2 separate regions of the Homo sapiens genome follow, and region 2 is linked to region 1. The links are contacts of gene promoters, found by promoter capture Hi-C in blood cells and fetal thymus (Javierre and others, 2016). All regions are on one chromosome and are shown on one strand. The core of a region is centred on a gene start or on the middle of the fragment in contact, and the rest is flanking DNA. Distances in the headings are between cores, read along the strand shown.

The links. The method cuts DNA at HindIII sites, captures the fragments that hold promoters and counts their contacts. A CHiCAGO score of 5 or more calls a contact.
Region 2: a contact is called between the fragment with the promoter of OR5K2 here and the fragment with the promoter of OR5K4 in region 1, in 3 of 17 cell types (naive CD8 T cells, activated CD4 T cells and total CD8 T cells). The highest score is 7.1, in naive CD8 T cells.

Annotation. Positions count from the first base shown.
Region 1 is chr3:98,351,399-98,355,738 of GRCh38, forward strand. OR5K4 (olfactory receptor family 5 subfamily K member 4) reads left to right here and starts at 2,456. Exons shown (of 1, transcript NM_001005517.1): 1 at 2,456-3,421. The coding sequence starts at 2,456. The coding sequence ends at 3,421. The HindIII fragment of the contact is 1,273 bases long and covers 2,207-3,479 here.
Region 2 is chr3:98,495,723-98,500,062 of GRCh38, forward strand. It overlaps OR5K2 (olfactory receptor family 5 subfamily K member 2), which reads left to right and starts at 1,959. Exons shown (of 1, transcript NM_001004737.1): 1 at 1,959-2,909. The coding sequence starts at 1,959. The coding sequence ends at 2,909. The HindIII fragment of the contact is 17,047 bases long and covers 1-4,340 here.

The sequences.
Region 1 (4,340 bases), core at 1,206-3,705:
TGAACCTTAAGCTGTTTTTAGTGATAGCAATTTTGATTTAACTTCCGAATCTCAAAATGCATCCATCTTTATATGCTGTTTGATTTACTGGTGCTGGGGGAACCATGCTCATCAGATTAGAGTCTCTGCAGAAACACTCTGATGCCAATGCCGAGGAAGTCCCTTTAGAATAGAAAACTTTAACTTTGCCTGAGACTTGCATAACTATTGTCACTAACCTATTGGTAGGGAGTGTCCTAGATTTTTATAATTTATTCCCTAATGATTTAAAAACCAATGTTTTTATTCTTAATTTCCCTACAAAGAAAAAACATCAGGAGACCAGTCAGCTACTATAAAATGTTTCTCAGTGAACTCAAAATATGAGGACTTAATTTTATTTACTAATTTATTTATATTATAGTATCAAAATGCAGAATATAAATTTTCTAATATACTTCAGTATTTTTATTGTTTTTAAATTTTAGCCACTTAATAATTCTCTTTGTCTCTAAAGTGAAGCCATTATAGAAAGCCATAAGGAGACATAGTAAGTGGATAAGTCTGACCTATTCTTTGTTCAAAAGTACCATAATTTTATCAGCAAATACACAGATAAGGCTGATGATGTCCTTGTACAGTAATTCTGCGATCTATAGGCAAATTAATTTTTGATTAAGTTCAAAAATTATATTTTACATTGGTGAAGAGAAAATGAGATTTTACTCATTATATTCTGAAATATGATCTATATAAAATAATTATTGATAATAAAATCCATTTTTCCACAGTCCACCTGATAAATATTTTCAGTTGATTTTCCATTAGATGTTACTAAAATAATGATAAAGAGCAGCATTTTATACTTTTACAAAGTTTTTTTAAAAATATAATTCTGAAAGATTTTTTAAAAGAGGTATAGACCTAAAATATAAAGGACATTTTATTGTATTCATTTGATTACAAGCCTCTAGTGATAAAACTCCAGAAAACCTCATCATATTATGTGAGTCAATAGAAAAACAAAAGTAAGAAACAGAGAAAACCTAACCAAAATGTTTTCAAAGTAATTCACTGGCCGGGCGAGGTGACTCATGCCTGTAATCCCAGCATTTTGGGAGGCCGAGGCGGGCGGATCGCCTGAGGTCAGGAGTTCGAGACCAGCCTGACCAACATGGTGAAACCCCGTCTCTACTAAAAATACAAAATTAGCCAGGCATGGTGGCTCATGCCTGTAATCCCAGCTACTCGGGAGGCTGAGGCAGGAGAAGTGCTTGAAACTCTGTCTCAAAAAAAAAAAAAATGTGCTTTGAATTAACTATCGTAGGCTCTTCTCCAAAATTGTCTGTTTGGAGTATGCTAAGGCTAAAGACTTTTAGAAACTTCTAAAAGAAAAGAAAGTTAATTTTATTATTCTTTAAAACTCAAATTGTTTCTGTACCTGAAATATTTTAATGTACAGTTGCCAAACTATAAGAACTATATAATAAATTTAGTTGATCATTAAACTCAAATAAATATATAGCCAGTAAAGAGTAGATAATGAGTTTGTAAATTTAAATAAATTTAAAACTCAAGTAAATAAATGGAGAACCTCCATAGAACTCACTGAAAATGAAGACATTACTTTCTATGAGAGATGTTTGAGTGAATACAAAATAGATATTTACCATGAAGAATATTCACATTATGAGTGGAGATTTTGCCACCAAATCTTACAATGTTGGACATGCATGTAAAACTCTTAAAACTAGAGACAGAAAGTATTAGGATAAGTGAGCAATTAAGAGTAATAACTCCTTGGGAAATTTGTCATACCAAGATTGGAATAGTATCTAGAATATGTTGAAATGAACATAAAAATGATATCCAATACAATGATTAAGAACACTCATAGATGTTTCATATTCTTATCCTCTCTAAAAGGATGAGTAGATATCTCATAAAATATGCAATTGGTGACCTTATCTGGAAAGGGTTACTAAGCTAGCAAAAGCATTCTTCAAATCACTGTGTTTCTGTGCAGTTTTTAAAATGTAGACATTTAAAATGCCTTAAGAGTAATTCATTTTAAGCGTCACATTGATCCAATAGGATACGATTTAAAACTTGTTTACTTTTTCCTGGAGGAAAAGATACCATAAGAAAATGTCTTAATTTTGGAAATGGAAAATTATATGTACTGACCACAGATTTTACATCGGCATAGGATAATTCATGCAGATAAAGCTTTCCTGCCCTAGGAATTCACACAGATATTTTCAGACAAGCCCTGGGTACACAATCCATGATACATTTTTTCTCACTTGATTTGACCCACAGTGAGTGTGCTAGTGTTTAGGAGATGGCACAGGATAATTTGAAGAAGACTTTCTTCCCTTTTGTATACAGGGAAATTAGAGGGTGAGAATTAGAAACATTCTGCTTTGGAATCTTACATTTCTTTACAATTTATGTCTCAGAAGAGAAGCCAGGAATGGCTAGGGAAAATCACTCCTTAGCAGCTGAATTCATCCTCATAGGATTTACAAATTATCCAGAGCTGAAGACGCTTCTGTTTGTGGTGTTCTCTGCCATCTATCTGGTCACCATGGTGGGGAATCTTGGTCTGGTGGCATTAATTTATGTAGAGCGTCGTCTTCTCACACCAATGTACATCTTTCTGGGCAACCTGGCTCTGATGGATTCCTGCTGTTCCTGTGCTGTTACCCCCAAGATGTTAGAGAATTTCTTTTCTGAGGATAGAATTATTTCCCTGTATGAATGTATGGCACAATTTTATTTTCTCTGTCTTGCTGAAACCACAGACTGCTTTCTTCTGGCGACAATGGCCTATGACCGCTATGTGGCCATATGCCACCCACTGCAGTACCACACCATGATGTCCAAGACGCTCTGCATTCGGATGACCACAGGGGCCTTCAAAGCTGGAAACCTGCATTCCATGATTCATGTAGGGCTTTTATTAAGGTTAACTTTCTGCAGGTCTAATAAAATTCACCACTTTTTCTGTGATATTCTTCCACTGTATAGACTCTCCTGTACAGATCCTTCTATTAATGAACTAATGATATATATCTTTTCAATACCAATTCAAATCTTTACCATTGCTACTGTCTTGATCTCTTATCTCTGCATCCTTTTGACTGTTTTCAAAATGAAATCCAAGGAGGGAAGAGGTAAAGCATTTTCTACCTGTGCATCCCACTTTCTCTCTGTCTCAATATTTTACATTTGTCTTCTCATGTATATTGGACCATCTGAAGAAGGAGATAAAGATACACCAGTGGCAATATTTTATGCAATAGTAATCCCATTACTAAACCCTTTTATTTATAGTCTGAGAAATAAGGAGGTCATAAATGTTCTTAAAAAAATTATGAGGAATTATAACATTCTTAAACAAACTTGCTCTATAGCAAATTTATTTTTAATTTATTAAAATGCTTTCATAAAGAGGGAACATAGAAAAATTAATATGTGATTTTACACAAAATGTAAGCTTATAAATCATTAGGCTATGTTTGTTTAAAAAATATATCAATGGAATTTCAAAATTGTTTCACAAATCTTTATCCAAATCCCACAACCAGAATGAATCGGGGAAACTCACTGGTAACTGTTATTACTACCTTTCATGACTCTCATGGAATTGTCAGAGAGTATTATCCTAAACCTCAATTAATCAACATAGCATGAAAGTTAAATGTTTAAATGTGTAGAAGAGTCTTCTTTGATTAATGTTTCCTAGTTAATGGAAGACATTATATCCAATCCTATGTAGCGTGTTTGAAACATTTAAAATTTCCTGGCAGAAAAGTGAAATGATAGTTTTCTTTCAGAAAACTGACCTGAGAGACACATGTGGATTACTTTAGAGTGGAAAAGACTAGAAGCAAACTAATTGCAGTAATTTATATTTAAGGTAATGAAGTTTTATTTAGATAAGATTGCAAGAATGAAAAAAAATGAAAAGGAACACACACACACATACACAGACATATACAGACACAGACACACACATACACACATGCAAAGAGGCTCACCTACAAAATATTCTATTTTGCAGAATAATTAATTGTGACTTATAACAAATTGGACAGAGTAGATTAAGGTCTACTTTAGCCAGAAGCATAATTAAGTTCCTTTTCATTCTTGAAGGCATCAACCATGTTATTGGCTATGTATTATATATAACTACAGTTTACATATTAACACTCATTAAACATTTTAAAACATATTAATAATGACATTGTTTTATTTTTGAGTAATGGTAAGCTGTACCAATATTTTATGTGTTTATTGACCATTTTTACTTTTATGAATTGTCATTTTTGTTTTGTCTGTTTTATTTCTTATTT
Region 2 (4,340 bases), core at 709-3,208, 140 kb after region 1:
TTTTAGTTATTTCTTTTTGATGCATTTATTTTTACTGATCAAAAGGTATGAACCTTAAGAGTTTCTTTAATCTATTACCAAATTATTTTCTAATGATTACACCAATTTATACATTTACCAGGAATGCAATTAGGTTGCCATTTTACTATATTCTAGATAACGCTCAATATTATCAGTTTTTTAATCTTATTTTCATATACAAAATAAATATAGCTTCATAGGTGTTTCTGAATGGTGTTTCTCTGATTAGTAATAAAATCAAACATTTTTAATTTACTTAAAAATGTTTTTTTCTTTGAGATTTTTCTATTCCTGGGCTTTACCTATTTTCTAGTAATTATTCCTACTCATTTGTATGAGATCTTATAGCAAAGGTACAGAAACTTTATCAAATTTACTGCAGATAATCTCCCAGTTTGACATTTTATTCATAATTTTTTGATACGTAGTTAGACAACCGAATATATTTTTAACTCAGGATTTCTCCAATTGCTTTTAATAACATTAATTTCTTTATGCACATAAGTAGTTTTACTCATAGTATCACTAGTAACATAGGAGGCTTTTTGGTTTTGGTTTGGTTTTTTTGAGACAGGGTCTCGCTGTGTCACCCAGGCTGGAGTGCAGTGATGCTATTATGGCTCACTGCAGCCCCCATCTCTCAGGCTCAATGAATCCTCTCACCTCAGCCTCCCCAGTAGCTGGCACTACAGGAGCATGTCACAATGCCCTGGTAATTTTATATACTTTATTTTTTTTTTTAAGAGACAGGGCCTCATTATGTTGCCCAGGCTGGTCTGGAACTCCTGGATTCAAGTGATGCTCCCTCCTCAGCCTCCTGAAGTGCTGGGATTACAGGCATAAGCCACTGTGCTCACCAGACTTTTTAAATGCAGTGTTTTGTTTTTTCTCCCAGCTTCCATCCATAACACTTTTACTCCCCAACTCCCAGGAATATAAATATCTTATAAATATTCCCTTTTCCCCCAGAGCATCTTATTTTTAAGTGTATATTCCACTAGTATTGGAGATAGTAATTTGCTGAAATAGGCAGATGAAAATAGTATTTTAAAAATATTTTTATTGGGGTAAATTATACACAACATAACTTTTATCATTTTAGTCATATTTAAGTGTACAGTTCAGTAGCATTAAGTGCATTAATATTGTTGTGGAATGATCACCATCATTTATCTCTAGAACATTTTCATCTTCCTAAACAGAAACACTGTACCCATTAAACAATAGCTCCCAGTAGACCCCTTCCCCTGGCAACTACCATTCAACTTTCTGTCTCTGTAAGTTCGACTACTCTAGCTTTCTCATGTAATTGGAATCATACAATATTTGTCCTTTTGTGTCTGGCTTATTTCAATCAGCCTTATGTCCTCAAGGTTAATCCATGTTGTAACATGTATGAGAATTTCAATCCTTTTTAAGACTGAGTAATATTCCACCACAATTTATTTATCCATTCACCTGTCCATGAACATTTGGGTTGTTTTTACGTTTTGGTTATTGAAGGTAATGCTGCTGTTAACATTAGCATACAAAAATAGTCTTTTAAACACATTGTTAACCACTACATATACAAACATTGAAATCGGGAACACTGGTACCAATTACTGACACTTAAATTACGAATCAGCTTTACCTATACTATATGGAGAAGTTCTGTGCTCTCAATATTTCTCTCAAGACCTCAAAAGTCATCCTTGTGCACCCAATCAGATATTTTTTCAAAATATGATAGAAACATGTTCAACCAATAGCCACAAAAGTAGTAGCCTCAGGAGACTCATTCTCGCAGTGAATTGGGCATGCACCAAATTCCAGGCAAGATGAGGAGACATTGTGGAAGATGCTCTCCTTCTTTTAAGCCAAAGAGACGTCAATAATTGTGGCATATTATTAATTAGTGCCTTATTCCTCTACAATTTTTTTCAGAGAGGTCAGGAATGGTTGAAGAAAATCATACCATGAAAAATGAGTTTATCCTCACAGGATTTACAGATCACCCTGAGCTGAAGACTCTGCTGTTTGTGGTGTTCTTTGCCATCTATCTGATCACCGTGGTGGGGAATATTAGTTTGGTGGCACTGATATTTACACACTGTCGGCTTCACACACCAATGTACATCTTTCTGGGAAATCTGGCTCTTGTGGATTCTTGCTGTGCCTGTGCTATTACCCCCAAAATGTTAGAGAACTTCTTTTCTGAGGGCAAAAGGATTTCCCTCTATGAATGTGCAGTACAGTTTTATTTTCTTTGCACTGTGGAAACTGCAGACTGCTTTCTTCTGGCAGCAGTGGCCTATGACCGCTATGTGGCCATCTGCAACCCACTGCAGTACCACATCATGATGTCCAAGAAACTCTGCATTCAGATGACCACAGGCGCCTTCATAGCTGGAAATCTGCATTCCATGATTCATGTAGGGCTTGTATTTAGGTTAGTTTTCTGTGGATTGAATCACATCAACCACTTTTACTGTGATACTCTTCCCTTGTATAGACTCTCCTGTGTTGACCCTTTCATCAATGAACTGGTTCTATTCATCTTCTCAGGTTCAGTTCAAGTCTTTACCATAGGTAGTGTCTTAATATCTTATCTCTATATTCTTCTTACTATTTTCAGAATGAAATCCAAGGAGGGAAGGGCCAAAGCCTTTTCTACTTGTGCATCCCACTTTTCATCAGTTTCATTATTCTATGGATCTATTTTTTTCCTATACATTAGACCAAATTTGCTTGAAGAAGGAGGTAATGATATACCAGCTGCTATTTTATTTACAATAGTAGTTCCCTTACTAAATCCTTTCATTTATAGTCTGAGAAACAAGGAAGTAATAAGTGTCTTAAGAAAAATTCTGCTGAAAATAAAATCTCAAGGAAGTGTGAACAAATGACATCTATCCTAGCTTAATGGTTTAATGCTCAAAAAACTTCTAAATAAAATTACACAGAGGAAGTGTACTAATTGTATACAAAATATTAAAACATATCAAAATACAATCAAATTAAGCAGAAATATGTGACAGGGAAAATTCATGGAAAGGAGTGAACTGTGCTAAATATTTACTCAGAATTTAAAAGCACATGCAGACATTGAATTCACTCAAGCAGCAATGTAGAAAGCCACCATGCCTATAGACTGTGTTAGTATCAATGATGATCAACACCCAAAACAACAGCAAAACTACCAGTTACAAATATAAAAAGCCATACCATTTACAAAGCGGGCTTTGATAACCAGCCCACTCTATAGCTTACAACATGTGCATTACAGTTAAGTGTTTAAGATCATGTGAACAGTCAACCAACGAACTCACTTATATCCATGAGCAACAAAAATGGCAAGTGAATTTTGAGGAAGAAAATGTAATAGCATGTGGGGGACATTATTGTAGTTAGAATGAGGTAGTCAGGAAGTGATTGTGCCAATAAAAGTGAATATTATATTTCCAAATAGAAGTTGTTGTTAAATGATTTAAACATTTAAATAATTAAAATCAGAATGTCAAATTTCAAGATAGGTTACATTAAGTTTTATTTACTCCAAAACCTACATGCATAAAGATACCATATCATAAAGTTCTAGACAAACATTTCAAACTTCATGTAGATCTGAAGAGCCTTCATTGTCAGTGAGTTAGGCTAAACTTCTCTGTGCCCATTCCTGAGAGGTGAGGAAGGGGTTAAACAATGGAGACACAACCTTTGGGTATATTATATACAGACATGTAAAAAAGTGTGATTGTGGGACTGTGGACAGGGCTTATCTCAAATATTTTCTTTTATTCCTTCACCATTGCAAAACTTAAAGTCGTTTAATATGGATAGAACCTAATAATCTTATGTGACATCATTAAAGAGATACTTTCCAATTATTCACTCTACATATATTTATTGAGATTCTGCTATGTGCAAGCACTGTTCTAGATGCTGAGACATATTAATGACCAAGACACCACTCTTTTCATCTTCTTAAATAATAGAACATTGCCATTATTTTAATTACTAACTTCTGGAACAAGGAGGACCCATAACAAGTAACAGAAAAATTCTCCCTTCCACCTCCTCTCTTGATGCTCTGTGGTCACATCTAAATTTCCAGAAGGCAGTTGTCAGATTGCAGTGGGCCTCAAGCTAGCCAGCCACCAGAGGCTGGCATCACATGGAAAATCAGCATGCTGAGTCTATATAGAAAAGGGAGTAGAAAACAGATATATTTCTAGATATAATTCCCTAAATCATGAATGAAAAACTATAAAAATATAGTGTATATTTGTAACCTCCAAGAAAACCTAACCTAGTTCATTCCAATTATACTCAGACAT